Linked DNA regions of Homo sapiens: all the other regions are linked to region 5. Evidence: promoter capture Hi-C in 16 types of primary human blood cells and fetal thymus (Javierre and others, 2016). All regions are on one chromosome and are shown on one strand. The core of a region is centred on a gene start or on the middle of the fragment in contact, and the rest is flanking DNA. Distances in the headings are between cores, read along the strand shown. Region 1 overlaps HIPK2 (homeodomain interacting protein kinase 2). Region 2 holds the start of MKRN1 (makorin ring finger protein 1). Region 3 overlaps HIPK2 (homeodomain interacting protein kinase 2). Region 4 overlaps HIPK2 (homeodomain interacting protein kinase 2). Region 5 holds the start of PARP12 (poly(ADP-ribose) polymerase family member 12). Region 6 holds the start of LOC105375530 (a long non-coding RNA gene). Region 7 overlaps HIPK2 (homeodomain interacting protein kinase 2).

Region 1 (4,219 bases), core at 1,025-3,524, 460 kb before region 5:
AGGCTGCTGCATGATGGGATTATAATGGCTTCCGTGAGCATGCGTATTTCTGAAAGGCAACCGGGACAACAAGGTGCCTTAGAGGTGTTCTAAAAGTAGAGCTCCTCTATAAGATCAAGCTTCCTCCCCAATTAAACGCTGACTGCAGTTGGTTATCTCACTAGCTGTGCAGCTGCTGAAGGGATGAGCCTGGCCATGTGTGCTCAACGGGTGGGTTTCTTCTACTCATAAGGAGTAGGTGAAACATAACTGGCTGTGAGTGAGAAAGAGGACTTTCAAGTGGGAAGAATGCCAAGTACACCGGCTCCAAGTTTTTAAGTTCTAGGGACTGGAGATAAATATTCCCTCCAACTTTTAAAGTCCCTGAGCACCTAGGTGTTTATCCTGAACAATATTCTATTTTAGAATTTACAGGCCAGGTATGGTGGCTCACACCTGTAATCCCAGCACTCTGGGAGACCGAGGAGGGCAGACGGCTTGAGCTCAAGAGTTTGAGACCAGCCTGGGCAACATGGCAAAACCCCCTTTCTACCAGAAATACAAAAAATTAGCTGGGCATGGTGGGGTGCACCTATGGGCCCAGCTACTCGGGAGGCTGAGGTGGCAGGATCACTTAAGCCTGGGAGGCAGAGGTTGCATGAGCCGAGATTGTGCCACTGCACTCCAGCCTGGGTGACAGAGCGAGACACTGTCTCAAAAAAAAAAAAAAAGTTTCACCTTAATTTTATAAAAAAAATTTTTAAATGAAGAAAAAGCGGAATTTACACAGTGTCTTCAATGGGTTATTTTATTCCACTCTGTGACGTAGGCAGGATATCTTAGCAATACCATTTTATTAAAGAAGAAATTATACTTTACGTGAAAAACAAACTTTGAAGCCTGGGAGCCATATGCTTCTGGTGTTAGGAAGTGTTAATGTTCTTTTGAATTCCCTCAGTGGCTGGAACAATGCTCAGGCATATAGCAGCTGATCAATTAATTACACGCTTGCTGAATGAATAATTAGATTAACTGAAGGTTGACTAGACAAGTATAAAGTTGGTATTAAATCAAAATTAATAACAGTCATGATAGAAATACTGGCAGCCCTCATCCTAAAAACGGGTTATGTTTCACAATTCTTATAATTTGGGTTGTATGAAGCTTAAAGCCTTGTTTTCCCACAGAAATGTTAAAGGTGGTGACTGACTCAGAGATTGGCCCATAAGAGCTCATTTAACACATAATAAAATTCAAAGCTAAAGGATAATTCATTTGAATTTTAGAAAATTATAAGAACCTATTGTTGCAACATGGGGAAAAGGATGAACAGGAAAAAAGAAGTAGATGAACACTTTTGTAGGGATTTTGATAGCGCCTTTTGGGCATTTACATGGACTTTAGAAACTCATATTATGGCTTCTTTTTTTTTTTTTTTTTTTTTGAGATGGAGTCTCAGTCTGTTGCCCAGGCTGGAGTGCAGTGGTGCGATCTCGGCTCACTGCAACCTCTGCCTCCTGGGTTCAAGCGATTCTCCTGCCTCAGCCTCCCGAGTAGCTGGGATTACAGGCGTGCACTGCCACGCCCAGCTAATTTTTGTATTTTTAGTAGAGGCGGGGTTTCGCCATGCTGACCAGGCTGGTCTCAAACTCCTGACCTCAGGTGATCTGCCTGCCTTGGCTTCCCAAAGTGCTGGGATTACAGACGTGAGCCACTGCATCCGACCAAGAAACTGATATTATGGCTTCTTTATTTTGTTGTAGCTCTTTCTCCTGTAGACAGGTGGCACTCTTTCTCTTTTGAGTCAGGCCTAGCACTGGTACTTCTGTTTGTTAGCCACAATAATAGATGTTCTTTGGCTCACACATGAAATGGAGAGAGACCAGGAAGAGAGTATGCTGGCTTTAGATGTCTCCTGTGGTCACTAGGTAAGAGATGTCAAAACGAAAGGAAGGAGGGAGGAGGAATAAGAAAATATGTAGGAATTAGTAAGTGTATGTGTATTTCTGAAATTAGATGAGCTATAAATGCTGAAAGACAAAAGGGAAAAAAAGGAATATGTCATGTGTGTGGTCTTTTAGGAGAAAAAGGGGCGAGGGAAAAAAAAAAACCCAGTTGGTCAGACAGCTTTCCACTCGGCTGCTCCTAAGGAGCTGGAGGAGGAAAGGCAATCTTGCTGAGCATGGGCCGATGTGATAGTGGGGAGGGAAGATGACAGGTTTATTTAATGCCTGTCATGTACCGGGCACTGCGATGGTGCATGTTAAATATAGGCCAAGTGCTTTGTATTTTATCTTACTTTAAACCTCCCAACAATCCTGTGAAGCAGGCATTACTATCCCCACTTTATTGAAGAAGAAACTGAGGTGCATAAAGGTTAACTTGCCCCAGGTCATGCAGAGCCAGGATTGAACTCAGCTCTACATGGTTTGAGATGGAGTCTCACTCTGTTGCCCAGGCTGGAGTGGTGGCATGAGGGCGTTGCCAGAAGGGAAGTGAGTGGGACTGTGGGGAAGGGCCCAGGTACTCTGTACTGGGCAGAAAATGAACTGGAGGAATGGAGGAAGCTGCAGTAGGGGTCTGACTGGGGGCTTATATCACCACCTTTCTTCTTTTCTCGGAGAGATCTTAATTCACAATAGCCTTGTAGGTCAGAATAAGAACTGTGGGAGGTTCCCTGTGTGATATGGAGGCTGTCAGGGGGTTGAGGGGAGTGACCTGTCCTGATATTCGTGCAGAATGAGAGATAGCCCAATAGGGCCATGAGGAGTTGGGGACAACTTGGAGGGTTGCCATCTGGCTCTGCACTGGTGAAGGGGCCATTGTGGTGGTGTTCGGGGGAAGGTACAAGGGTATCTAGCCATAAAAATAACAGAGGAGCGCATCTGTGAGGAAATCATGAGTTGGGCAGGGTAGAGTTCTGGAAACAGATGCAGGGGGTATGCTGTGCTGGCAGGCAGTCAGGTGGACGCCTCTGGGGTGTGTGGGAAGTAGACTCTGATCTGTAAGATATGACTATTAACTGAAGAGGCACACTCAGCAAACATGCCAGCATTTACCCTTCCAAATAAACCCCATTCTGTCAAGCCATCCCGTGGGAGGTCAGATAGACTCCAGAGTACCCCCGTCTCAAACATCTTCAGAACACTTTCTAGAATTGCTTAGGGCTTTGGGGACCCTCTTCTGCATTCTTTCACTGGTGACAGACCTTTGTTTTCTGAACGTAGAATTTAATTCTGAGAAACTACCAAACATCATCCAGAACCAAGTCTGGTGAATTACACTGATGAGTAAATGACATAACTGAATTCTGGGTGGAAATGACAACCAAGCATAAATTAATGAAACTGATTTTCTTGTATCCTGGTATATTATTTAAAAATTGCTTCTTGTTACCCTGCACTCATAGTCCACACAATATTTTTAGAAGCTTTAAAAAGCTCTCTACAAACCGGGGAATTGAAGTACAGGCCAGCCTGGCAGCCCTGTGTTGGCAGTGGACGTGCCTCCCATCCCAGACACACCCACTCACCCTAGAGGGGTTTCCTGCTTACCTCCAGTCCGCCAGCTGCTGGGTGCCTGCCATGGTCTCGGGAATCACGGTGGCATGCTGCACTGATGTGTGGGTGGCCACTCCAGTCAGTTGCTGCCATGCTGGGGGAAGCAGGATCTGCTGGGTCCCACTTGGCCAAGCCTGCTGTAGAACACAGGACATGTGCAATGACCATGTTTGCTAATCACATAATTGATTTGCATGAACCCACACTTATTCTGTGCCTGGGGTTGTGCTAGACATTCTCATGGGTGTGAGAGTGAGGGCCTGGTCTCTGGCCTCAAAAACTAAAGTAAGGGGAGATAAACAATGAACATACAGGCCGGGTGCAGTGGCTCACGCCTGTAATCCTAGCACTTTGGGAGGCTGAGGAGAGCGGATCACGAGGTCAGGAGATCCAGACCATCCTGGCTAACACAGTGAAACCCCATCTCTACTAAAAATACAAAAAATTAGCTGGGCGTGGTAGCGGGCACCTGTAGTCCCAGCTACTTGGGAGGCTAAGGCAGGAGAATGGCATGAACCTGGGAGGTGGAGCTTGAAGAAGTGAGCCGAGATGGCGCCACTGCACTCCAGCCTGGGCGACAGAGCGAGACTCCGTCTCAAAAAAAAAAAAAAAAAAAAAAAAAAGAACATATATGAACTAAGTAGAAGATAATTAAGTACAGGGACACAGCTGTATGGAAG
Region 2 (4,163 bases), core at 601-3,100, 420 kb after region 5:
CTCTTGAACACCTAATATTGTGTCTCCCATTGCTGGCGTGCAATGTTTACTTACTGAATGATTGAATAAGGTAGTTCCAGAAAAAATATACATGTGGCCGGGCGTAATCCCACCTACTCAGGAGGCTGAGGCAGGAGAATCGCTTGAACCCAGGAGGCAGAGGTTGCAGTGAGCTGAGATCTCGCCACTGCACTCCAGCCTGGGCGACAGAGCGACACTCCATCTCAAAAAAAAAAAAAAAAAAGGAAGATACACATGTGTTCTGTTAAGTACTTTGTCTTTGGTAATTTACAAGTTTTGTTTTTTTTTTTTTTAATGAAAGCAGAGGAATCTTACAAAGTTCCTGTTAAAGTGGGTAATTCTAGGTATATGACTTTATCAACATCACTCAAGCATTTACTCAGTATCTGCTCAGGATACTCAGTAACTGAGTATCCTGTTCATGATACTGGAACTGAGGAAAGAAACTGAGGAACTGAGGAAAGAAAGCCCTGCAGATAAAATAGGGCCCTACTCTTCTCAGAGAGCTCAAAGTGAACGATAAGGATCATAGACCGGGTGCGGTGGCTCACGCCTCTAATCCCAGCACTTTGGGAGGCTGAGGCCGGCAGATCACCTGAGGTCGGGAGTTCAAGACCAGCCTGACCAACACGGAGAAAGCCCGTCTCTACTAAAAATACAAAATTAGTCAGGTGGGCATGGTGGTGCACGCCTGTAATCCCAGCTACTAAGGCATCTGTAATGCCAGAGACTGAGGCAGGAGAATCAATTAAACCTGGGAGGCGGGGGTTGTGGTAAGTAGAGATCACACCATTGCACTCCAACCTGGGAAACAAGAGGGAAACTCTGTCTCAAAAAAAAAAAAAAAAAAATGATAGTTGACATTCCTCTATCTAAAGGAGAAAATAGTTTTAAGTAAGAGATCATGTTGGTACCTAGAACAACCGAAAACAATGTCAAACACTAAAACCCCAGACCTATCAAGGAATCTGCACAACAATAAAAAACTGTCTCAAGCAAAAGCTATACAAAAAACCCCCAAAAACTAGTAAATCTAAGCTCTTTCTTTTCTTTCTTTTTCTTTTTTGTTTTTCTTCTGACAGAGTTTCACTTTCGCCCAGGCTGGAGTGAAGTGGTGTGATATTGGCTCACCGCAACCTCTGCCTCCTGGGTTCAAGCAACTCCCTGCCTCAGCCTCCGGAGTAGCTGAGATTACAAGCGCCTGTCACCACGCCCGGCTAATGTTTTTTGTATTTTCAGTAGAGACGGGGTTTCACCATCTTGGCCAGGCTGGTCTTGAGCTCCTGACCTCGTGATCCACCTGCCTTGGCCTCCCAAAGTGCTGGGATTACAGGTGTGAGCCACTGTGCCCGGCCTAATTTTTGTATTCTTAGTAGAGACAGGGTTTCACCATGTTGGCCAGGCTGGTCTCGAACTCCTTACCTCAGGCGATCCGCCCGCCTCAGCCTCCCAAAATGCTGGGATTACAGGCGTGAGCCACCACGCCGACCTAGCCACCCCGACAGGCCGGTTTCAATCTTTTAAAAGATGTAACTAGCACATATAGATCAACTGTAGCATTGTAAAAGGGAAACAGATATTCAAATAATTTGCTCCATGAGTAGAAACTTTAAAATCATCATTCCTGGCAATATTCCACTTTTACAATCCACCGATGAATAAGACAAGTGACCTGAAATTGCGTTTATGCTTTCTACATCCCATTATGTAAAATAATTAAGCTTATCCTTCACACCTTAAATGTATCATATCAAAGGCTGAGAGACCTTCGAAGGTCGCCAGGATAAATGTATCACATCAAAGACTGGGAAGGTTTCAAATTTCACCCTTAATACTACAAGTTCTAATTAGGAATCATTTTTACATACTTGCATATAAATTATACCACCCAGGTGAAAACCGGCATTTCAGTTGATTTATTCAACTGATAGAAAAAGAAAAGCTTACAGTCGCTACTGATCACTATTTAAAAACCGGAAAATAAAAAACGTACAATTAAATGCCCTCTTCTGCGTAGAGCTAGGTAGTTTTTTACAACCATACACATCCATACAACCGCCATCCCTTAATTTTTCTAATATTTTCGTCTCGCATATCAAACCAAAACCAAACCTCTCTCTCTTCCGGGAGCGAAGAGCCCTTTCACTCCCTTCGGAAGATGCGTAAATTTCAAAAGAGGAACATAGCGCTGGGGGAGGGTAATAATCTGCAGCTCAAAAAAACCGCGGGTGGAGAAGACGACCCCGGCCCCCGAACGCCTGCTTCTAAGACAAAGCTCAGCACCGCCAACCTCGACAAACATACAAAGAAGAAATACAAAAGCTTCTTCTCACAGTTGGGCGGAGGATGGGGGGCGGAGGGACGGAGGGACGTGAAAAGACGTTACAAACGGATGGCACGGAGAGAGGAGAGGGCCGGGAGCCAGGCAAGCTCGCTGGGGCCCTCGGCGGGGTGTCTAGGCCCGGAGAGGATCGCTGGGAGACCGGCCTCAAGTGACCACCTCCCGAGCCCCGGGAGCCGGAGGCAGCGGCGGGGGCATCCTTCCAGCGGCAGGGGAGGAGCCAGCCCACCTCTCCCCGATGCGCTCGCAGCCAGCTCAGGCAGCGCTCAGGGAAGTGTAAGCGGCGGTGCAGCCCCGCGGCTCCGCAGTAATCGCGCACCGCCAGGCCTCCGCGGACAGCGCTGAGGGCTCCGCGGCCCAGCGGGGGTTGACGCAGTGACTGGGGGAACGCGGCGGCAGCGGGGGCCGCGAGGGCTGCAGAGATCGAGACAACGCCGGTCCCCGCCCTCCCGCGCCTCTAGCCGCAGGCCGGCCGCCCTCCTCCCTCCCGCGCCGCAGGCTTGGCCCGCGGCCCCCTCCCCGCGCCCGGCGCTCCGCCGCGCAACGTCCTACCTGCAGGTGACCTGTTTAGTCCAGCCGCCGCCGCTGCCGTCGCTGCCGCCGCCCCCTCCGCCCGCCCCCAGGGACGGGGCGGTGACTGTGGGGATCGGGGTGGGGGAGGCTGCTGCCGCCGTCGCCGCTGCCGCTCCTGCTCCTGATGTTGTGGCTGTTGTTCCGGGAGTTGCAGCCTCCGCCATTACTGTTTATCCCACACAGCAAAGGCCCCGGAACTTCCGGGATCACATAGTTCCGGTCCGGCTGCGGGGAGAGGACGGCGAGGCCAGGCGAGGGGAGGGGAAGGACACTGAGGCACCCGTTCGGTCCCCGCCTGCTACGCGTCGCGTATCTGAGCGCTCTCGCCACTTCAACTGCGGGCCCAGAGCATGCGCGCCCGCGGCCCGCCCACGGCGCCGCTCATTGGTGGAGGGGACGTCTCCTCCGGAAAGGGGCGGGGCAAACGGGGGTCTGTACAGGTGTGTCCTAGGCTCGAAACCCCGGCGACGAAAGTCCATAGTTAGCGGCTTTCTTCCTAGCAGAGGCTGATATAGTGGAGCTGGGGCTGGGGACTAGGGACTTGCAGTCGGAAGACCTGGGTTTGAATCTGCACTTTCCCATTTCTCTAGTAATATTTGAGCTAGGTACTTGTTCTATCTGAGCCTCCGTTTCAGCCTCTCTCGAATAAGGATGACAGCAGACCCACATATGGTTGCTGTGAGGATTATATGATGTCCTTAGAAATCACTGAGCTTAGTGCCTGGTACATGGTAAACACTTAATAAAGGTTATCTCATTCCTGGTATCAGAGATGTGATCTTGGCCAAGTATTTTGGCTGAGCAATGCTCTAGAGGGCTGGTCCCCTTATCTCCAGGCTTCCCTTTCTAAGCCATGGGTCTTCTAGCAAATTATCCTACCTCTTGGTGCTCCTGCTTTCTCCTCTGTAAAAACGACAATAATAATAATAATAGGCCAGGCGCGGTGGCTCACGCCTGTAATCCCAGCACTTTGGGAGGCTGAGGTAGGCGAATCACCTGAGGTCATGAGTTCGAGATCAGCCTGGCCAACGTGGTGAAACCCCGTCTTTACTAAAAATACAAAAATTAGCCGGGTGTAGTGGCTAGTCCCAGTTACTCAGGAGGCTGAGGCAGGAGAATTCCTTGAACCCGGGAGGCGGAGGTTGCAGTGAGCCGAGATCGCGCCACTGCACTCCAGCTTGGGCGACAGAATGAAATTCCGTCTCAAAATAATAATAATAGTAATAGA
Region 3 (4,287 bases), core at 76-2,575, 420 kb before region 5:
GATTACAGTGAAGCAGCACAGGACCCAAGAAACAGTGGCAGAAATCTGAAGAGCAGGGAGGAGGAGGAGGCTATTTCAGAGGAATTGGAGCCAGAGGTAAGAGAGAGCTGCACAGAAGACAGCCAGAAAGGCAAGGGCTGGAAAGCACCTCGGGGCAGCTGCATGGAGAGACAACACGCCCTGTGACCACAGGCAAGCCTGCTGGGAAAACAGGGGCAGCCTCCCCACAGGATGAATCCACACCATGCCTAGGGGGATCCAGAAGGTCCAAGTGGAGATGTAGATGGCCATTGAGGTGAGCTAATCCCAGGTCAACCTGTGATTGGATTCTTAAAAAGACACACAGCTTCCTAGGCAAACAGGAGATCAAAGAGAAATAGTTTTGTCTTTGATTAGGGTGATAGGCAGACAAGCAAAAGGAAAAAGGGACCCAGAGATGAAGCTCTAGGAGCAAAACATGGGGGAGGTTGACAAGGGGCCCACCCATTGCGCTGGCTTCCACGGAGCCATCCTTGGAATGGCCAAGCCAAACACCGTGGACCCCAAGATCTCTGTGCACTCTGCAGCAGGGTACTTTTGCCTGGTTATAAGCTGAAGAAATTAAGGTGGAGAGCTGCTGCAAGGGAACAGGGTTCCAACTCCAAAAGGAGAGCTGGGGGGACAGACACGACACCCAAACTTCTGGGTGGTTGCAGCTTGATGTAATACACGTAGAACCACTGTTGCAGAGATTTTCTACCTAAGGGGCCGCTACTGATGTCCATAAAACTGTGTGCTAAGGAGGATCATTTCAGACCCTCACTGATGATTCTGTCATAACTGAGTATCTTCAGCTATCACCAATACAAGTGCTGAAGACTTCAGAATGAACCATCATATCCATATGGAGGTTGATATAATTGCAGTTGGGTCTAGATGTTGACATCATTCTCATGGCACACTTGGACAGTCTCTTAAAGGATGCAGGCTTCCTTGATTCAACTGGCCATTCCCTGTATAATGTTAGAATCAGATTGGCGGTTTTTTCTATTCATATTGGCAGTGAACATCTTGGCTCTGAATATGTACTAAATACACACACACACACACACACACACACACATTTTCACACTGATCCTTCGTTCTTAGTCCTGCTCCAACTCTGCTAAGCGTAGCACCAAAATCTAACTCACTTGTTTACATGCCAGAGGAGAAGGTTGCATCTGCAACTGAAATGAATATAATCTCCAAAGGCTTCTGGTGATGTTGGTGCAAACTGGAAACCAGTTCTCAGATGTCCAGAGCATACTGGCCTCTAAATTTGTGGTTATGTGCTTGTGCATGTAGAATAAAGTGAAGAAAGTACAGCCAGGGACATGGATCCACCTAAACGATATTGACTTGACTTGGTGAAATAAGAAAAGCAAGAAGGGAAGGAAAGAAGAAAAAAAGAAAACTATGAATTGTAATGTCAATGAGGAAGGTTCCTAGAAGAACCAGTTTGGACTCCATGATAAGTATTTCAAAGATACTCACGCTGCCCTGTAATTCCTGAGATCCTTATACTCCTGACACGTGCTGTGCCTGCTTTACCCATCCCTGGCCTGGGTGGCCCAATATCCCCCAATCTGGTCTCTGGTGCTATACCATGAAGCTCTGCGTTGCTGGAGAAAGCCTGTTCTGACCTCCCAGCACTCTACCAGACTACAGTGTCACCAGGCCACGCTTTATGCTTGGTGACTTTTGTCAAAGAATGTGCTCAACAAATGTTTGCAGAAGCACCTATCAGCCAGAGAAATGGAACCATGTGTCTCTGCAGGTGCCTATCTATGTAATCTTTTCATATGTATACTGCTCCAGGCTCTTTTTAAATGTTTTTATCTTTTTTTTTAATTATGAAAGAGAATATATATACAAAGAAGTATACAACAAAAACGTATACCTTAACAACTTATTGGAAAACAAAGACCAGTGTCACTACCAGCCAGGTGAAGAAACAGAGCACTGTCAACATCACAAAAGCCCTGTGGTATTTCCTCCCATCCGCTGTCCCTCCTCCTCAAAGGGGCTCTGAAGTCACCATGTGTGGGAGGTGACATGCAGCCTGCACACTCAAGCCTGGGTATGGGTGCACATCGGTGTGGCAGCCCCCATGCCTCGCTGTGCTCTGCCACTGTGCTCAGATGAGGCTCCTGCCCAGGTGAGCGCAAAGGCCAGAGGCTGGGAATCCCAACACAGTGGCTGAGAAAGGAGCCAGGCCTCAGCCATTCTTTTATGATGGTCCTCATCATGGATCCTTTTGTTGACTGTTTTTCTTCCGATTCATTGTTAGTCTGTTGACTGAAGCCGAGGGTTGAAACTGGGCATTTAGAGCTGTGTTGGGAAGCCTGCTGATTCTGGGAAGGCCTAACCCAAGTCCCACTGTCACCTGCTGTCACTTTTCAGCTTTCTGGGACCACTCTTCTTTTCTCTGCACTGGCAAGGGATTTGGAATTTCAATTCCTGTGGATCAACTGCAGATGTGGCGTCTTCACTTTATTCAGCCTGGTGATGTTACCCACTTATAGTGATCATGAGATGTGAGGCTGGGGAAAAGGCTGGTCTCTTCCACACTAACACATTAATTCAAGGTTCACCCTCTACTCTAGATGGATGCATACTAAGAAAGTAACATCACTTATGTGCAACTTTACTGATTTAAATGCAAAACTTCTCATTGCTTCAACATTTAGCTTCGACTGGTTCATGGTGAGGCCTCAATAAGTGTTTGCTGGATGAATGAATGAACCAACAACAGGCAGAAGAAACACGATGCTTTCCTTTCCAAGGTTCCCAGTGCCTCCACTGGAGAAGCCCCGAATCCCCAACTCTCAGATGAGTGACTGTGCCATAGACAAGGCTCATCTTTGGGGTATTTTCTTTCCTTACAGCACCATCTGATCATGTGGCTTGTGGAGCTAAGTCACAGTCAGTCTTTATGGCTGACAGTCTGGGATAAAAGACAGAAACTTGCTCCTTCTTTGAAAGGGAGATACATTCAGTGTCACCAGCCGGAGACATACCAATTAAGAGAACAGAAGCCAGAAACTTGAGCTATGAAAAGGAACCCACTCAGTAAAAATGTCAAACACAAGTTAGAGAGTGAATTTCCATTGCAGCCTAAGGGATATTCCAATAAAACAGGTATCGTCTGAGGAGGTCTCCCCCACTGCACTGTGTGTTAGGTGGAAAACTACTGAGAAAGCAGGGCCGAAACCCACTAATACCCTACCTAAGCAACTTTCCAAATAAAGCCACTACTCCTGGCCGATGGAGTAGGCTCTGATCCTGTAAGTACAGGATGCGGCCTGACTCTAAGCAGGCAGGTGTGAGTGCGGTGAGGGGAGCCAGGTGGATGAGGCTGGCCTTGCTCTCTGGAGACGTGCACGCCATCAAACCAGCAAAACAGGACTCACTGAGGGTATGTTTTTTACCCAATTTTAGAGCAGGGAGCATCCACAGAGTAAATGTGGCCATGGCCCGTCTGCTCACAGCACTCCTGGTTAGGACCTGCTGTGGTCCGGACAAGAGCGAGCTCTCACGGTGACTGGTTGGTTATTCCAGCAGGAGTTAGGAACAAGAAGATCTTGCCAAACAAAATGGGCATAAACTCCAGGTCTCCAGCCAAGGGCAGCTTACTCAGGGGAAACCTTCCAACACTCAACTTTTCTTAAAGGAGCTGAAAAAGAACAAACCAAACCAAACCAAACCAAAGTTTGCCTTCTTGTGTTTGGGTCACAGAGGAAATACTAAGCTGGCTCTTTACACCTCCCACTAGGGGGCGCTGAAGTGCAACAGACACAGGCTCGGAAAGCCACCTGAACCTTCAACTTCCATGGAGACAGAGGGACGCGACCCACTGGGTAAGGGAACAAACGGTTCCCTTAAGGCTGGTGCGGTGGCTCACCCATGCACTGCCAGCACTTTGGGAAGCCAAGGCGGGAGGATCACTTGAGGCCAGGAGTTCAAGAGTAGCCTGGGCAACATAGTAAGACTCCGTCCCTACAAAAAATTTTTTAAAAAATTAGCCAGGAGTGGTTGTACACACCTGTAGTCCCAGCTACTCAGGAGGCTGAGGTAAGAGGATGGCATAAGCCTGGGAAGTCGAGGCTGCAGTGAGCTGTGATCACGCCACTGCACTCCAGCCTGGGTGACAGAGTAAGACCTTGTCTTAAAAAAAAAAAAAAAAAAAAGGAAAGAAAGAAAAGAAAGTTTTCAGATGAGGATACCACTGCTCCATCTTCTCATTAACCAGTTTTCTTATCCTAA
Region 4 (3,859 bases), core at 77-2,576, 500 kb before region 5:
CCACTTAAAATGGTAATTTTATATTATGTATATTTTACCATAATTTAAGACAAAAAGAGTGTCAGAAGGCTGGGAAACCCCAGTCCCAGCAGGATGTGGCGTTTCTTAGGCTTGCTGAGGTGGAGCTGCTGCAGGCACAGCGCCTGGACGGGGCTGTGGCGCACGTAGCTCAAGTGCGCAGTGGCAAGGGCCCTGGCAATGGGCCAGCAAGCCACGAGGCTCCGGGTGCTGATGGTGTCTGGTGAGACGGCAGGGCCTGGGTGCGGAGGATCCGGGATGCATATTGGAAAGCTTCCAGGACAGCAGGTGACAGCCACACCTTAGGTGTCAGGGACAGAGATTGGGAGCAGATGGGGCTGAAATGGCTTGGAAGAGGCAGCAGGAAGCTGGGAGACTCTTAGCCCCACTCAACTGCATGGGAATTGGTAGTAATGTGATCTCAAGGCCCCCCACCTCTCTCTGCAAATGTTCAATGCAGTGGTGGCTTCTACACATTTCCAGAGCCATTAAATAATCTCGGCCCGGCGCAGTGGCTCATGCCTGTAATCCCAGCACTTTGGGAGGCCGAGGCAGGTGGATCATCTGAGGTCAGGAGTTCGAGACCAGCCTGACCAAAAAATGGAGAAACCCCATCTCTACTAAAAATACAAAATTAGCCGGGCGTGGTGGTGCATGCCTGTAATCCCAGCTACTCGGGAGGCTGAGGCAAGAGAATCACTTGAACCTGGGAGGCGGAGTTTGCAGTGAGCCAGGATCGTGCCATTGCCCTCCAGCCTGGGCAACAAGAGCAAAACTCCATCTAAATAAACAAACAAACCCCAAATATGTTACTTGTAACAATAACCTCTTCGCTTTTATGACAGGTCTGGTTCCAGGATAAATAAGCATGCCAGGCAGGTGTACAGTGATTTCAAACAGTTTAATGTAATTCCAAGACAAAGTGTGATTACATTTCTACACATATACAATATGCATATGTGAGTTTACAAATTTTAATTAATAAGTCATTTCACCTCGGAGACCGAAAAAATGATCAAAAAGAAACTATGAGTAACAAGCTATAACATAGTTCACCACAATGGGACCCCCCCCCCTTTTTCTCACCCTACAGTTAGTAATATTACAATTAAAATAACTATATTCTTCTATATTTTTTCTGTTAAAATCATCTCATAAATTTACAATGCTATTATTAGTTTCCAAGACTAATATAAATTCACTCCATTTTTCTACAACGAAAATGATTAATTTAGAAGCACACGACGTCATGATGAAAAACACAAGCATTTTAGTAGCAAGGACTTGATCAGTTAAGAATTAGTTTTCTTGTAAAACATTCTAAAGCCAAGTAAAATATCCATTCTTATAACATACCTATAATATGAGACTAAGGAATAGGTTACATATAGGTCTACAACACATTGGTTTGTCTTTAAAAAAACAAAAGTAGACATTTATAAATAAAAAAGAGGGACAATTCACATAGGAAAAAGAGGTACACGAGAAAATACTGTTGCACGCAATAATTTTCACACAGATTAACATGGATTAACACTTTTTATTACAGAAACCGTACGGTGAAGGAACACAACAGACCAGGGCTTTCATAGGGTTATTGAGATTGAGCTGAGATGACCTGGGAGAGAAAGATCTAGGTGAGATGACCCTGGGGAGGGAGCCACGTTCCTTGGACCTGGTGACTTAGTGTCGCCGGGTCTCCTCTTCCCTGTTCTCATTTTGGGGAGTGAGTCTTTCTATCCAGTGTCCTGAATTCATGAGCAGTTGAAAGGTAAACATTTCTGCAGATCCATTCTCTTTCTATCCTAATGGATACCATTTTTGGAAACGTGACAGAGTATCAGAGGCTGCAGCTCAGTACACGTGGTCAAAGCAAAACGGGATGGAAACTTCCAGTCACTCTGATTTGTTGCCCCCGTCACCCACTGATGCGCTTGAAGCTGGGACCCAGTGAGACAGCAGCAGCACCCTACAGGGCCTGCTGGCTCTGCCGTGGTGAGGTGGATGACAAGGGCCCGGCGCCACGCCTCAGCCCCATGTGTGCGGAGTGGCCTGGGACACAGCCCATGCACGTCCAAGACACCAGTCTTGACTCCGACCTCTAAAGAGCTCCTTCTCCTCATCTGTAAAGCTATACTTCTCCTATCCAATTTGGTTTGATATATATACACAAACATATATATCAACATCTATCTCTATACAGTGATTCTACTAAATTAGAAATTCTGCTGCCCCAAAGTATGACTTTCTTGTCTATTTCATTTGGTTAAAAAAATGCACACACAGAGGATGAAGAGATGATTTGGGGGCTAGAGATGACTGTGCCCTGGAAAGTCCATGGAAGAAGCTTGAAGTGAGCAGGAACACAAAAGGGAGGAGAGCAGAAACGGGGGACCGACTGACTCAGGGCAGCGCTGACGGGAACATCTGCTTGGGGTGGGGCGGGGCGGGGGTGTGCTCTCTGTTCCATTTGTTAGTTACAGGAAGCTACCAAGGATGCACATGGTCAAGTCACTTTCTACTTCCCAAGTTCCTCCTTATAACCTGAGCCAAACAATTTCAACAATGACAATCCATTGCCCCTTCAGCCCAGCAGGCGACTCTGACAGGGAGGTGTGACCACCAGTCTCAAGGCTGAGTGGGGCCTTCTTGCTGGCTCTCGCGCTTTCTGGGAGTCCTGGGTGCCTTGGCCCAGGGCAGTGGTGACAGCAGGGTGGAGGCAGAGGTGGCCCCGGGGACAGTGACCCTATATAAGGAAGGGGGCGGTGCCAGGAGAGATTCGTTTGGAGATTGGTTACAAGGAAGCGAGGGAGAGCAGAGGCAGAGCCCTTTTTCAGATACAACATACTTACTTTTCAAATGAACAAAAGGCAATTTCTATGTTTTAAAAATATAAGCCCCAAAAACAATGACACAAAATTCATTTGGTTAATTCATGTAAAGGAAAAAACAGCAACACCACCACACAAACAGGAAAGTGGGAGTATGATTAGGAGGGGTGAGATGAAAACTATTTTACAGTAACATTTCCACCAAAAGACTGTCCTAAGAACACGCTGTCAATACAGTTCACAGGGAAAAAGCAAATGTGGTATTTTTTTGTATTTTTTAAAAGCTCCCTGGTCCCAGGTGTTTTGCAGTTTTCAAGGTCTTATCTGCTAAAGGAATGCCCTTTAGGTCACAGCAGGTCCTCTGCAGTTTGGTGGTGGCACAAGAGAAAACATAAAAGAAACCAAGACTCAGGGAAACTGCCATTCCCCCAGTCTGTTTCTGCATGACAGTGGGGCCCATTCCTGTCTCGAAGCATCTTCTTGTTCCAAATATGATGTCTGTTTAGAGTGGGTCTCAATGGACCAGGCTGAGCTGCCCCTCTGTCTCTGCCTCCTCCTGCTCAGCCCTGACCATCTCTGAGAGGATGCTAAGGTCCCCCTCCCACCGAACTAGACTTTGAGTCTAAGCTGGACAATGAGTAAAACGTAAACATAGCCTTTTACATTGATTTTGCTTTTAAGGGGAAAACGAATAAATGACAGCAGATATATGGAAAACCCAGCCAGCGACCATGGGAATAGGGGTATATGGTCCTCCCCTACAAAACGCTGATCAAAATATCACCCCCGGCCCAGAAGTAGCAGCTGTGCCTTCATGGTCACCTGAATCCCAGTCTCTTCTACTGCCTGGTGCCTGGAAATCAGTGGATCTATTAATAAGTTAAATATTCAAATCAAGACAAAAATCAATGAACCAGGTTATCTGTTCTCAATGACTCTTCCAAGATGTCAGAGAGAAGGCCTTGAAGACAAGTGTTTAGACGACACGCATGAGACCTTCGCATCTGGCC
Region 5 (3,803 bases), core at 1,002-3,501:
CCACCATTTGCTGTGTGCCTTCCTCCTCGTGGGCTGTTGTTCCCTGCTCTCCCCTGGACTGCCTCATCCCTGAAGGCTGATTTCCCCAGAGTTCCACCCTCAGCCTCTTTTCAGGCCTCAGACGCTACCTCAGATCTGATCCACTCCTGGGGCTGCAACTACAACATACACCGCCCAATATCTCCCAAACCAGCCCAGCGCATTGGGGCCCTGGCCTTCCTCCCAAGCTTCTGACCTGAACAGCTGCCTCCTGGGCATGCTTCCAAACTAAAACCCTCTCTTGCTCTCTCAGTGAACAACACCCAGGCCACCGCAGGAACAGAGACTGAAGAGTCGTCACCTCTCACATATCCTCTCATCACACCGTCACCAGCTATCCCAAATTTCTCACACACATAGCCCTTGGAAAGCTCTAATCTAGATACTTCCAGACAGCTGCTTCCTAGAGGCATTTCCCAGTCACCCTGCATCTAGACAGGGTCACGAGACAGCTTCTGGTCAATGGGATGTGGGTGAAAGGAAATCCACCACTTCTAGACCTGGCCCACAAAAACCTCCCATGCATCCCTCTTTTCGATCAGCCCCCTCGAACTTGATAACCTAGGCTGGCCTCAAGAGCCATGTGCTGAGGGGCACAGAGCGGAGGTCAGTCAGCCTGCATCCCTGAATGACTGTATGGATCAAGGCCCCCACCCCATGCTCACTACTGGGCCTGACATGAGCAAGAAATATCTACTCTATTAAGACAAACATACACACACACACACAAAACAGGGAGCAAGCAAGAAAGGAGGGAGCAGGGGAGGAAGGAATTCTCCTTGATGACTAGCTTCCCAGTGGTTCCCCCACAACATCCTCCCTTAAATTGGCACCCACACCACTACCTTAGACTTCCTAAAACGCAAACCTGATGGTTGCTCTCTCCTGCCATTTTACCCGCCCCATCACCTCCAGGGTGAGGCCCAAATTCTTTAGCATAAACCTCAGCAATCCCTTCCACACATCCCACTGGCCACATGCTATGCACAGAACATGGACGCTAAGTGCTGGGGAGACAGCTGGAGCCTCTGCCCTCAGGGAGTTTCTATTCTACTGGCAGCTGGGTGCCATGAGGAAAATAAACAGTTCCCTGTGACCAAGAGTAAGGGGAGGAAAAATCCTCAAATGGGATGTGATCTTTAGGTTGAGGCCTGAAGGATTAACAAATAGGGCCAACCAAGAGCAAGAAGGGCATTCCAGGCAGAGCAAAGACTCCCAGAAATGCCCAGGCTCCCAGAAATGCCCGGGGGGGGGGGGGTGTTCCAGTCACAGAAGGGTCCTGGGTGGGCAGGGACCAGTGCCCCAGGACCTTGTGGGCGATGGCAGGGAGTCTGCATTTTCCAGTTTGTAAGCAGATTAATAGGGTTGAACTGGGTTTAAAGATCTCTACCAGCTGCTGGGCAGAGAAAACCTTCATTGTCTGGCCTCAAAGCTGGCAAGGGGCGACCCGCGGCGTCGTGGAGTTCCCCTAAGCCGCCGCCTCCCTCCCTCCCCACCCCACACGGCCACACCCGGGTGTTCCACCCGGCACTACCATGCTCTATGTAAATCACTCTCTCCCCCCAGGCGTCTAGAGGACCCCACTCGACCCTGAGTCCCTCGCACTGTGCCAGGTACTCCGCAGGTGCTCATTAAACGCTCGCTTTAGTGAATGACGGTGCGAGGTCAGGGCAGAGCCACCGAATTGTCTGCTCAAACTTCAAGTAGGACCCCCAAGCGGGCTGGAAGTGCGTGAGGGCGCGCAGGACCTCCGCCCGCCGTCGCTCCCGGCGCGGCGCCTTACCCGGCTCTCAGGAACTTGCAGGCGCCGTAGACCATGAACCTGCAGAGGTGGAGCTGCGCGCAGAGCCCCACGCAGCCCGGCTTGGAGCCCTGGTGCGCGCGACACAGGCGCAGCGGCGAGGCGGCCAGCACCACGCGCTCCGGGGCCGCGGCTGCGCCGCCCGCCCGCACCGCCACCACGAAGCGCCCACGCTGCCGCAGCAGCCGCTCCAGCGCGTCGGCGCTCAAGCCCATCCGCAAGCGGCGCCGCAGCTCGGGCAACTCCAGGGCGCCCCCGGCCGCGCACAGCACCTGGGTGACCTCACCGACGACGCCGGCCTGGGCCATGGCCGCTGGGCCTGCTCCCGTCGGACCGCGGGTGGCGCGACGCGGACGGCGGCGGACGCTGGCTGGCGGGCGGCTCTCGCAGGGTGGAGACGCCGGCGGGAAACGAAACCGAAAGCGGCCCCGGGCCGGCGAAAAACAGAACCTGTGCGCCCTCGCCACGCCCCCGGTCCGCAGCTGAGCGGCTGCGCCTTCCGCCTCAGGGCCCCCAGCTGTGAGGCCGCCGCCCGACGGAAGCTCGGGAGCTCTTGAGCTCGGGCGTTCGGCCCGGAGCGCGGGCTGTGGCTGTGGCGGCTCGCGGGGGTCAGTACCTAGTCCCTGAAAATGGCTTCCCTGGATGTTTGAGGGACCAGGAGCCCCTAATGCCGCGATGCTCAGCGCGCCTTCAGTCAGAGGGAGCCTCGAGGGCGGCGGCAGCGCTGGCGGAGCCGGCTGGACGCCGCCGGTTAAAGCCGCTCAGCGTCGCCCAGGCCAAGCCCGGGCTTCGTAGACGGCTCACAGAAACAGGGACAACTGACGGGAGCTCTCACCCCTCGAACAAGTGACAAAAGCGATCACTCCGCATAGAAGACGCACTTAATTAAAGGTTCCTTTCGCCTCGGTGCATCAATGAGTTCCTTCATTTAAACATAAAAGGGTATGTCCTTTAAAAGAGCAAATCCGTGAGCCGAGATTGCGCGACTGCACTCCAGCCTGGGCGACAGAGCGAGACTCCGTCTCAAAAAATAAAATAAAATAAAATAAAATCCGTTACTCCCAGCCCCTGCTAAGTAACGATTGAACAAATATTTTAGAAGACCCTTCAGAGCAAAGGACCCTCTCACACGCTGAGAGCAATGCGAGTTGTTAGAGCCCTTTGAGGAGGTAATCCAGGAATAGCTATTAAAATTGAAAACGCGTGTGACCTTTGACCCAGCAATCTTTCCTCTCGGAATCTTCCAGAAGTAAAAGGAACAGTAAATAAGTTATGTGTGAAAGTGTTACTGGGGGAACCCTACCTGGGAGGTAGGGTTACGTGGGAACAGTGTGGTTGATCTTTAAAGACTATTACGAAGGCTGTTTAACAAGCATGCGTTAGAGCTCCGTGTGCGGATGTAGAGGGGCAGACAGCCATGATGTGGTGGTAAACGAGAAAAGATGGCTGTACAGAAATGTCTAAATAATCAAGTTGAATGATCAAGAATTAATTTTTTTAAATGTCTGAATAACAAAAAGAGAAGCCTGTGTGTGTGTGTGTGGCAGGATATTTTTGAATAAGCACGGAGAAAGATGAAGAAACACACAAGGGTAGTTGAGAGGAGGCAGTAGGAGGTATTAGGAAAATGGAAAAGGGAAGATGAGAGGCAGAAGGATTGTGGGGGGAGAGTACTTACGGTATACGGTATAACATTCACTAAAAATGAATATAAAAATCTTAACTATAGGCCAGGCACAGTGGCTCACGCCTGTAATCCCAGCACTTTGGGAGGTCAAGGCGGGCGGATCACTTGAGGTCAGTAGTTTGAGACCAGCCTGGCCAACGTGGTGAAACCCCGTCTCTGCTAAAAACGTAAAAATTAGCCGGGCGTGGTAACGGGCGCCAGTAATCCCAGCTACTCGGGAGACAGGCAGGAGAATCGCTTGAATCCGGGAGGCAGAGATTGCAGTGAGCGGAGATC
Region 6 (4,298 bases), core at 1,520-4,019, 480 kb before region 5:
GACTTGCAAAAGGAGACGTTTTAGCAGGGTGCTGAGAAGCTGCATTTCACAAGCATTTCTTCAGAGGAAAGGTAGCTGGGGTAACTCCAAAGTCAGGGAAAAAGAGCTTCGCCGCAAATGTCGGAAAGGGTGATGCTGCCTTGGGTTAGGAAGTAGGTGGCGGGGAGCGCAAGCCTGTGGCTGTCACCATCTCCCCTTTAGGCAGAGCCTCTCAGCAAAAGGGGCCCCATCCCAGGCAATGCCATGAGCTCTTGGGAGAGCGTGCCAGGGCTCTGACCCTCACCGTGCAGGCTGGCCTGAGGCACTGGGCTGGAAAAGCCCTAATGACCCCATCCTGCCTCTACGCTTCATCCTCAGTGGCAGCCCCTGAATGGGGCCTGCGCCCACTGGGTCTCACATGTGGTCACCACCCAGGAAGAGTCCCCAGTTTCCTGTAGCGACCTCAGGTGACAGACATGAGGTCCTCCTGAGAAGTAACAGCTTCTCACATCTAGACAAAAGCTTCCTGGCGTTCCCTTTCCTTCCCTTTTCAGTTATGCCGCCACGCAGGTGCAGGCTGGCTTGGGTGTGGTTTGTGGCGGAATAGCGGGACGCGCAGACTTCTTCTGGTTTAGTCCCCACATTCTTCCACTGTGAGCATGAGCAAGGGAAACGCTAAATAGATGCTACAAAATCTACAGTGAGCCACTGAGTTTATTCAGAAGGTTACGTTCTCAGCCTTTATTCCAGGGCCCAATTTTCAAGACAAGCCTTCGCGGGACAGGAGGAGTCCTCTGAAGATAGCAGTGCATGAGCAGAGAAACACACATGGCTTGGTCTCGCCGCCCAGCAGCTGATTCCGAGGAGGGGCTGAGAGGGGCCAATTTCACCCTTCCCTAGCAAGACTCGGAGGAGGTTCTTCCTACACAAGAAGCCCATCTGACCACCAGGGCTTCCTGGCAGAGAGTGGTGCTAGATGTCAGCCAGGAACTCCCCAGACCAGGTATTCTTCCAGGCTCAGGCATAAAGAACCAGGAGGCTTTTATTTTCTATTAATCAACCTAGTTGGAAGCAGAGCCATTGTAAAGGCAGAGAGGTATTGATTACAGGATTAAAGAAGGAAAACGCTGCTTATACAATGTGCTGTTCAGCAGAAGCCTCCCCTGGATACTTGAATAAAATCCTCGGTAAGGGTCGCCTGCAGTCACTGGGCACTTTCTATTGTACTAGCTCCCATACAGCAACATTTCTAGCAGCAGAAAAGCAGGAAAACCACTCTCCAGGGAGAGGTTCCTGCCCTGTCCTGGCCCCAAATTACCTGGCACCAGGCTATCACACTCCACCAATACTTCGCTGGCCTGGGTTTTCAGGGGTGGCACGATGATGGTTCGGGGGTTCCCCGTGCAGTGATTCTCCAGGCTCCCCTTGGTGTCAAAGGCATTGGCATTGTTGTGCCCAGCACGCTGCTGCACGGAGTAGGGGCTGGTGTTGCTGGAGGAGTCGGAGTAGGGGGAGTCGTGGACTGTGACACAGCTGATGACGTTTTTTCTTTGCTTGGAGACAGTGCTGAAAATGCAAAGGGAGAAGTCAGAGGTGGGAGAAGGCCGTGAGGTGAGACACCCAACTAGCACTTCATGCCCTGGGGCAGGGGAGGGAGGCAGAGGGGAGAGGGCAGGAACAGGGCTTTTGCCCTCCCTAACCCCCATAGGGAGACTGGGCATGCAAAAGTCCCCTGTGTAGCCGGCAGCAGGGGGACATGTGAAGACATGGAGAAGGGGCTGGTGCTGGACCCACAGGGGCTTCTGGAAACTAGGGAGTGAGATGCTTCCGGGCTGGCCTGGGCTCTTCCTGTGCAGCAGAGCTCAGCAGAGCTGCAGGGGAGGCACCTGCAGCCCAGAGCTGGGTACAACCCCCGTGGGCCTGCCAGAATGGGACATCTGAGCAAGGAGAGAACCAGCAAGAACCCAGCAACCTGGGGACCTGGGTTAGGAGTAAACCTCGCTGGGAGAAGAATGTCATAAGCTTAGGTTTGGTGCCTGCGGCCTGGCAAAGCTTATGCAGGAGGGAGCAGAATGTCCAATGGGATGCAGCGTGAGGCTCTGAGGGGGCTGCATGCACACAGCACAGTGCAGACATGCTGCAGAGAACGCAGAGCTAGAGTTGACACCCTCTGCCTCTCCTTACTTTGAGTGTGCTCTGTGGGCTGTGTGCAGGCCACTACGACCTCTGCAGTCCCCTTTTCAGGAGCCAGGCTCACCTGCAGCTTTTCCACTGCCTGGGCCAAGGGATCGGGGGAGATGGTATTGCACCGGGGCCTGGTGGGAAGGCCCCTGCCAGGTTGATGCTGTGTGAAAGCCACTCTGAAGCCCTGGCCTTCATCTTATATGTGGAACTTCATACAATAGGGAGGCACTGGCTTTGGATAGCTCTTGGCCGGCATGTTTGTTCAGAGATATTTAAGTTAGTGTGGTTACTTTGGGAACTACTTCTGTTTGTCTTCAAACTCAGTGAGAGGCTGCTGGCATGATGGATGTGAAATTTATTGTTTATTGTGTGCTTATTTAAGACTTTAAAATGAATGTGCATCTATTTTTATATATTGATCATTTATTTTTAAGAAATAAAAATTGCCTAGGCAACTGGTCAGTTTCCAGCTAATTGGATGAGAGAAGCAGCTGGTATTTACGGAGCCTCATAGAGTCACAGCCACCTCCCGGGTATCTTGTTTGAGGCCACACAGCCAGGCCAGGCTCTTCCCATGATGGATCTCCACCACCCTAGAGGCAGCAGGGAAGTGGGCAAATTCCAGAGCCCACAGCAGCCAGGCAGGAGGGACAGAAGCAGAGCCTGTCTGCTGAGCTACAGAAGGCTGGGGGATCTGGGGGGTGCAGTCCCCAGGAGGCGCTGGCCCTGCTCCCCAACGCCCAGCGCTCCTGACATCTAGGCTGGATAATTCTTCCAGTGGCTGGACACTGTCCTCTCTGGTTCAGGGTGCCTAACCGTGTTCGTGGGTGAGAACACGAACCTTGGAGTCAGCTGTCTAACTTCGGCATGTGCTGGTGACAGGGCGGTGGGCAGCTATTTAACCTCTCAGTGATTCAGTGGCCTCATCAGTAAAAGGTAGGTAATAATTGTACCTATATCATAGGCTTGTTTTGAGAACTAAGTGAGAAAATACAAGTGCTTTCAATGATACACAACACATGGTAAGTATTCCATAATAGCTGCTATTCTTCTTCTTCTTACAAGTTGTGTTACCTTAGTTAACATGTGAAAACAGGTTTGCAAAAAACTTATTTAGGCAAAGAGAATTCTATCAGGGTAAGGACTTGCTGGAAAAGTTTCCTTTTTTCTAGTTTATGAATAAACCAGAAGATTGAAATCAAAGAAAATTAAAACTCATGATATCTCGGAGATCTACGCGGGGTACTACAGGGAATACCTATACAAAGAAATATGTGTCTCTGCCCTCGAGGAGATTAAAATCTCAGTGGAGGACTGTATAACAACATGACAAGTTAAATAGTAAAAGCTTTAAAATAACCAGTTAGAGAGAATAATGGATGTCACAAAGCCTCCGTGATTAACTGTCAGATGAATCGTACAGATGATAATTGTTAAGAACTCAGAAGAAGGTGAGGAATGAATTGGTTGCATATATTTATGGCTCTTCATGTTAACTTAAAGTAGATAAATTTTAATTAATAAAGACCCACACCTCCCAGTTATGACAGTTTAAATGTGAAATGTCCATATGCTTGTTCCTCAAAAAGCTAAACACAGAGTTACCCTATAGCAATTCCATTCCTAAGTACATTCTCAAAGGATTGGAAACAGGTACTCAGATACATGTAAGCCAATGTTCACTGCAGCACTATTCAAAATACCAAGAGGTAGAAACGACCCGAGTGTCCATCAGCTGGTGAATGAATAGAAAATATGGTGTATCCATACAGTGGAATACTATTCAGTCATGAAAATGAATGAATGCTGGGAGGGGTGGCTCATGCCTGTAATCTCGGTGCTTTGGGAGGCTGAGGTGGGAGGATTGCTTGAGGCTGGGGGTTCAAGACCAGCCTGGGCAACACAGTAAGAGCCAATCTCTACAAACAATTAAAAAAATAAGCAAAGTATGGTGGTGCATGCCTGTAGTCCCAGCTGTTTGGGAGGCTGAGGTGGGAGCCCAGGAGTTTGAGGCTGCAGTGAGCTATGATCACACCACTGCACTCCAGCCTGGGTGTCAGAGTGAAACCCTGTCTCCAAAAAAAAAAAGTTCTGATACATGCTACAATATGGATGAACCTCGAAAATATTAAATG
Region 7 (4,231 bases), core at 565-3,064, 440 kb before region 5:
ACCTGAGGTCAGGAGCTCGAGACCAGCCTGGCCAACATGGGGAAACCCTGTCTCTATTAAAAATACAAAAATTAGTCGGGTGTGGTGCGTGTGCCTGCAGTTCCAGCTACTCGGGAGGCTGAGGCAGGAGAATCGCTTGAACCTGGGAGGTGGAAGCTGCAGTGACGCAGTGAGCAAAGATCGTACTGCTGCACTCCAACCTGTGCAACAGAGTGAGACTCTACTTCAAAAAAAAAAAAAAAAAAAAAGAAAAAAAGGACAAATCCCATAACAAGAGTAGGGGAGGGATGGGTCCAGATTCCTTTGTACCGGAGTTCAGTTGTTTCAAGCATGGTTTTACATTAAAGAGGCACTATCTGTTTGTTGCAATGCCATTTGACTTGCTTCACTGATAGTAAGGCACAGAAATGAAATGGAGGCCCCACTATCCATGGTGGTGCCACCCACTCACTTCCTGTAGGCCAGAAAGGGGCGGGTCCAGCCTTGAGACCCAGCCCCCTCTGACTCTGGAGACAGCAGGGCCCGCCATGATACGCACAATTCTCACATCTCCAGGCTCTTCTCACAGGATTCCCTTCCCCTCCTGATCCTTATAGAATCTGCTGCTCTCTTGAGCACACCCCTTTTCCCTGCAGACGTAGGATGTGATTATTTATTCTTTTACATCCCAAGTACCTCAGGGTTGAGAGGCTGAAGTGAGACCCTCCATTACCTTCCCATCCACCAACGGCTTCCTATTTTTTTTTTTTTTTGACGGAGTCTCGCTCTGTCGCCCAGGCTGGAGTGCAGTGGCACTATCTCAGCTCACTGCAACCTCCGCCTCCTGGGTTCAAGCGATTCTTGTGCTTCAGCCTCCCAAGTAGCTGGGATTACAGAAGTGCGGCCACCACGCTTGGCTAATTTTTGTATTTTTAGTAGAGATGGGGTTTTACCATGCTGGCCAGGCTGGTCTGAGCTCCTGACCTCAGCTGATCCGCCCTCCTTGGCTTCCCAAAGTGCTGGGATTACAGGTGTGAGCCACTGCAACCGGCCATGACTTCGTTTCCTCTCCCCTTCGTTCACTGAGGCCTTTGCCACTGGCTGGACCTTCCTCTCCAAGCCATTCCCTGCCTCGCTAGGAAGGCTTCAGAAGTCACAGGTCCCTTTTTAAATACCCTGGCTTCCCGCTTACTTCTCATGTCCAGTGACTCTTGTTCTCAACCCAGTACAGCCACTCATTCCCTGGACCGTCAAACCTGAAATTGCTCCACCTCCAGAAACTACAAGTTTAAGCATCCTGTTTTCCCAGCCACATTCTTCCTCCATCTGGCTCATTCCACTATGACTATGATAACCCTTCTCTGCATTGACCAGAACACCACGTTTACTTGGATCCCCTCCCATCTTCACTTCCTTTCCCTTTGGGCAAAGTCTCCAATAGACATCATTCTGGATTACAGTTACTCTCTGGCTAGCCTCATCAGCTTCCTTGTCAATCTGTCTTCTTCTCTTACCAGCCTGGCAAAAATTCCACCTGGACAAACCTAGATCAGAAGACTCATCTGTCTTCTCTATGCCTTCACCTGGGGAGATGAGTTACACTATAAACGATTCATGTCGAACCTCAGGGCTCAACAATTCCACCGTATTTCTCTGGTCAGTTTGCTCTGCCACCTTCTGCTCCAGCTACCTAAACTTTCTACCCTTCTTAAACCACCCTCCACCTCGTTCTCAACAGATAACCTCATTGCCTACTTCTGAGAAGCAGAAGCTGTCTGACAGGACTCCCTCAACTTTTCTCCATGAGACCAGCACATACGCTGACATCCACATGCCCCTCGTCCATCTATCCTTCCAATGACACTGGCCCATCCCTGTGCTCTGAACCCTGTCTTAAAAACAATCCCCTTGACCCCTCCCCAGTCACCCCTCTATTTCTTCTCTTGCATAGCCTCACTTCATGAAAGGTTGCTATTTCTTCACCTCTCACTTGGTCTTTCAACCTGGTAAACTGGTTTCTGCTTTTACCACTCCACTGAATGGCTGCCACTGCGTTACTGACAACTTGTGAGTTGTTAAACCGAATGGACATTTTTTTCCAGACTCATTTGACTTGTGTGGCAGCAGACAGATCTTTGCTCAACACAGATCTAACCAGCTATTCCCTTGCTGAAGAATCATTTAATGAGTTCCCATTGCTTTTTGGATCAAGATTAAAAACCTTAACATGTACGGCCTGCCCTGGCTGACTGGATGCCTCACTGTCTCACCTACTGCCTTCTGGGATGGGTGCATGGTCCTGCCCATGGGGGAGTGTCCTGTCCATACAGGCAATGCCCTGCCTGCTCATGCCCATCCTCTTCCTCATCCTTCACAGGCCACTTCCTGGGAGTCTTCCTGGTTTGCCCCAAAATGAGGCTCCCCTGTGGGTATGCTCTCATCACACCTGATACTTGTCCTCATAGCAGCCTGGTGATTTGGGCATCACTTGTTTTATACCATTCTCTCTCTTACGGACTGCAAGCTCCAGTGGGCAGGGCCGTCTGCTCTGCTCACCACTGTACCCCGGCACACAGCACGCTGAAGAAATGAATGAACAAATCCAAACCCAAACTAGACTGGGTCCACTCTGGGAAGGTTCTGGGAGCAATCTTTGGCCCTGAGACTAGTTTTGCGCTACAGAGACTACCGTTTCGGGCACCTCTCTTCCTGCACAGATACCCAGAGTCAGGTTCATCCAGCTCTGTGCTCTCCTCTTCCCTCCTTTTCAGTGTGAAGCCAACTGCAGGCCAGGGACCCAGTCCAGCCACTGCCCACTTTCTTTCTTTTTTTCTTTCCTTTTTTTTTTTTTGAGATGGAGTCTCGCTCTGTCGCCCAGGCTGGAGTGCAATGGCGCGATCTCGGCTCACTGCAACCTCTGCTTCCCAGGTTCAAGCAATTCTCCTGCTTCAGCCTCCCAAATAGCTGGGATTACAGGTGCGCCCCACCACACCCAGCTGATTTTTGTATTTTTAGTAGAGACAGGGTTTCACCATATTGGCCAGGCTGGTCTCGAACTCCTGACCTCAGGTGATCCACCTGCCTGGGCCTCCCAAAGTGCTAGGATTACAGGCATGAGACACCACGCCCAGCCCTGCCCACTTTCATAAATGTTTCATTAGAATGCAGCCTCACTCATCTGTTTATGTATTGCATCTGTGGCTGCTTTCAGCTACAGTGACAGCTGAGTAGTTGTTACCAAGACCTTATGGCCGCAAAACCTAAAATATTTAGTGTCTGGGCCTTTAAAGTTTGCCGATCCCTGGTACGAAGCATCAGGCAGGACACCTACTGTGTGCTGTGGGGAAAATCGAGTAAGTGTGTCATGGTGACAAAGGGATGGTTCAGGGTTTCGATTGGAGTGATTCTCTTGTCAGCATCAATGGTCAGCATCTTCTTCAACAGGTCAATGAACTCCCGCCGGTCAGCCTTTTCTACCAACATGTCGCTCCCTTCCAAATCTGTCGTCATGTTCACCTGGACGCAAGTAAGGACAGGTTACCAAGGAAGACCCCAGCGTGCCTCCCCTCTCCTGGCTCCCCTTATTTTTTGCCCTGTAACTTCCTCCTGATCTCTCAAGCCCCCTTTCTCAGTTCCCAGGAACTCTGCCCCTATGGGAGGCACCACCCACATGTTGTCATTGCCCACAGGATGTGGCTTTTCTCTCTGCAGGAAAGGCAGAGAGGGGCTGTGCCCCAGGAAGGGGAGAGGGCTGCTGCTGGGACCTGCAAATATATCTGAATGACAGGATGTAAACTGCTCCTGCTTTCATCAGTTAAGTTGAAATGCAGCTTTCATCACTCCTCATTAAAAATAACCACAAGATGAAAAGAGTTCTGGAGACTGGTTGCATAACAATGGGAGTGTTAATACTATTGAACTGTACCCTTAACAAAGGCTAAGATGATAAATTTTATGCTATGTGTGTGTTTGCCACAATTTTTAAAAAAGAGTCACGGCCAAGCAGTACAAATAAGATACAAAAAAGTCTATGTATGTATGTATGTATGTATGTATGTATGTATGTATGCATGTATTTAACCTTTAGAGGGAAGTGGAAGGGCCTGAGTGTGCCCGTCCTCCACCTACAGCATATCATCCTTCTCATGGGTTCCCCAGTTAGGGCCAGAATTATTTTAGTCCCTGTGTTCAATGGAGTCACCTCTGGCCAAGACAGGCAGGATATCTGAACACAGGATTTTTCTTCCAAGGG

Evidence for each region. The method cuts DNA at HindIII sites, captures the fragments that hold promoters and counts their contacts. A CHiCAGO score of 5 or more calls a contact.
Region 1: a fragment that was not itself captured here is called in contact with the fragment with the promoter of PARP12 in region 5 in 5 of 17 cell types (monocytes, fetal thymus, naive CD8 T cells and 2 more); the score reaches 11.7 in monocytes.
Region 2: a fragment that was not itself captured here is called in contact with the fragment with the promoter of PARP12 in region 5 in 2 of 17 cell types (erythroblasts and non-activated CD4 T cells); the score reaches 5.7 in erythroblasts.
Region 3: a contact is called between a fragment that was not itself captured here and the fragment with the promoter of PARP12 in region 5, in 8 of 17 cell types (fetal thymus, neutrophils, naive CD8 T cells and 5 more). The highest score is 9.2, in fetal thymus.
Region 4: a fragment that was not itself captured here is called in contact with the fragment with the promoter of PARP12 in region 5 in 1 of 17 cell types (M2 macrophages); the score reaches 6.4 in M2 macrophages.
Region 6: a contact is called between a fragment that was not itself captured here and the fragment with the promoter of PARP12 in region 5, in 1 of 17 cell types (monocytes). The highest score is 5.2, in monocytes.
Region 7: a fragment that was not itself captured here is called in contact with the fragment with the promoter of PARP12 in region 5 in 6 of 17 cell types (fetal thymus, activated CD4 T cells, naive CD4 T cells and 3 more); the score reaches 8.4 in fetal thymus.

The regions. Positions count from the first base shown.
Region 1 is chr7:139,600,548-139,604,766 of GRCh38, forward strand. It overlaps HIPK2 (homeodomain interacting protein kinase 2), which reads right to left. Exons shown (of 15, transcript NM_022740.5): 10 at 3,534-3,676; 11 at 1-49. The region is part of intron 2 of LOC105375530 (a long non-coding RNA gene); the gene reads left to right. Among named protein-coding and RNA genes, the nearest start is that of CLEC2L, 79 kb to the left of the region's middle. The HindIII fragment of the contact is 2,266 bases long and covers 1,142-3,407 here.
Region 2 is chr7:140,476,246-140,480,408 of GRCh38, forward strand. It overlaps MKRN1 (makorin ring finger protein 1), which reads right to left and starts at 3,260. Exons shown (of 8, transcript NM_013446.4): 1 at 2,915-3,260. The coding sequence starts at 3,099. RefSeq lists silencers at 2,491-2,570, 2,851-2,990, 3,281-3,390 and enhancers at 2,526-3,366, 3,697-4,163. The HindIII fragment of the contact is 221 bases long and covers 1,741-1,961 here.
Region 3 is chr7:139,642,309-139,646,595 of GRCh38, forward strand. All of the region lies in intron 2 of HIPK2 (homeodomain interacting protein kinase 2), which reads right to left. Among named protein-coding and RNA genes, the nearest start is that of CLEC2L, 120 kb to the left of the region's middle. The HindIII fragment of the contact is 6,710 bases long and covers 1-4,287 here.
Region 4 is chr7:139,560,670-139,564,528 of GRCh38, forward strand. HIPK2 (homeodomain interacting protein kinase 2) reads right to left here. Exons shown (of 15, transcript NM_022740.5): 15 at 901-3,859. Among named protein-coding and RNA genes, the nearest start is that of CLEC2L, 39 kb to the left of the region's middle. The HindIII fragment of the contact is 2,074 bases long and covers 290-2,363 here.
Region 5 is chr7:140,060,700-140,064,502 of GRCh38, forward strand. It overlaps PARP12 (poly(ADP-ribose) polymerase family member 12), which reads right to left and starts at 2,252. Exons shown (of 12, transcript NM_022750.4): 1 at 1,823-2,252. The coding sequence starts at 2,148. RefSeq lists a silencer at 1,860-2,179 and an enhancer at 2,190-2,399. The HindIII fragment of the contact is 6,136 bases long and covers 226-3,803 here.
Region 6 is chr7:139,582,520-139,586,817 of GRCh38, forward strand. HIPK2 (homeodomain interacting protein kinase 2) reads right to left here. Exons shown (of 15, transcript NM_022740.5): 13 at 1,298-1,545. LOC105375530 (a long non-coding RNA gene) reads left to right here and starts at 3,014. Exons shown (of 4, transcript XR_001745383.2): 1 at 3,014-3,099. The HindIII fragment of the contact is 1,480 bases long and covers 2,030-3,509 here.
Region 7 is chr7:139,623,291-139,627,521 of GRCh38, forward strand. HIPK2 (homeodomain interacting protein kinase 2) reads right to left here. Exons shown (of 15, transcript NM_022740.5): 6 at 3,311-3,495. Among named protein-coding and RNA genes, the nearest start is that of CLEC2L, 100 kb to the left of the region's middle. RefSeq lists a silencer at 3,099-3,309. The HindIII fragment of the contact is 7,682 bases long and covers 1-4,231 here.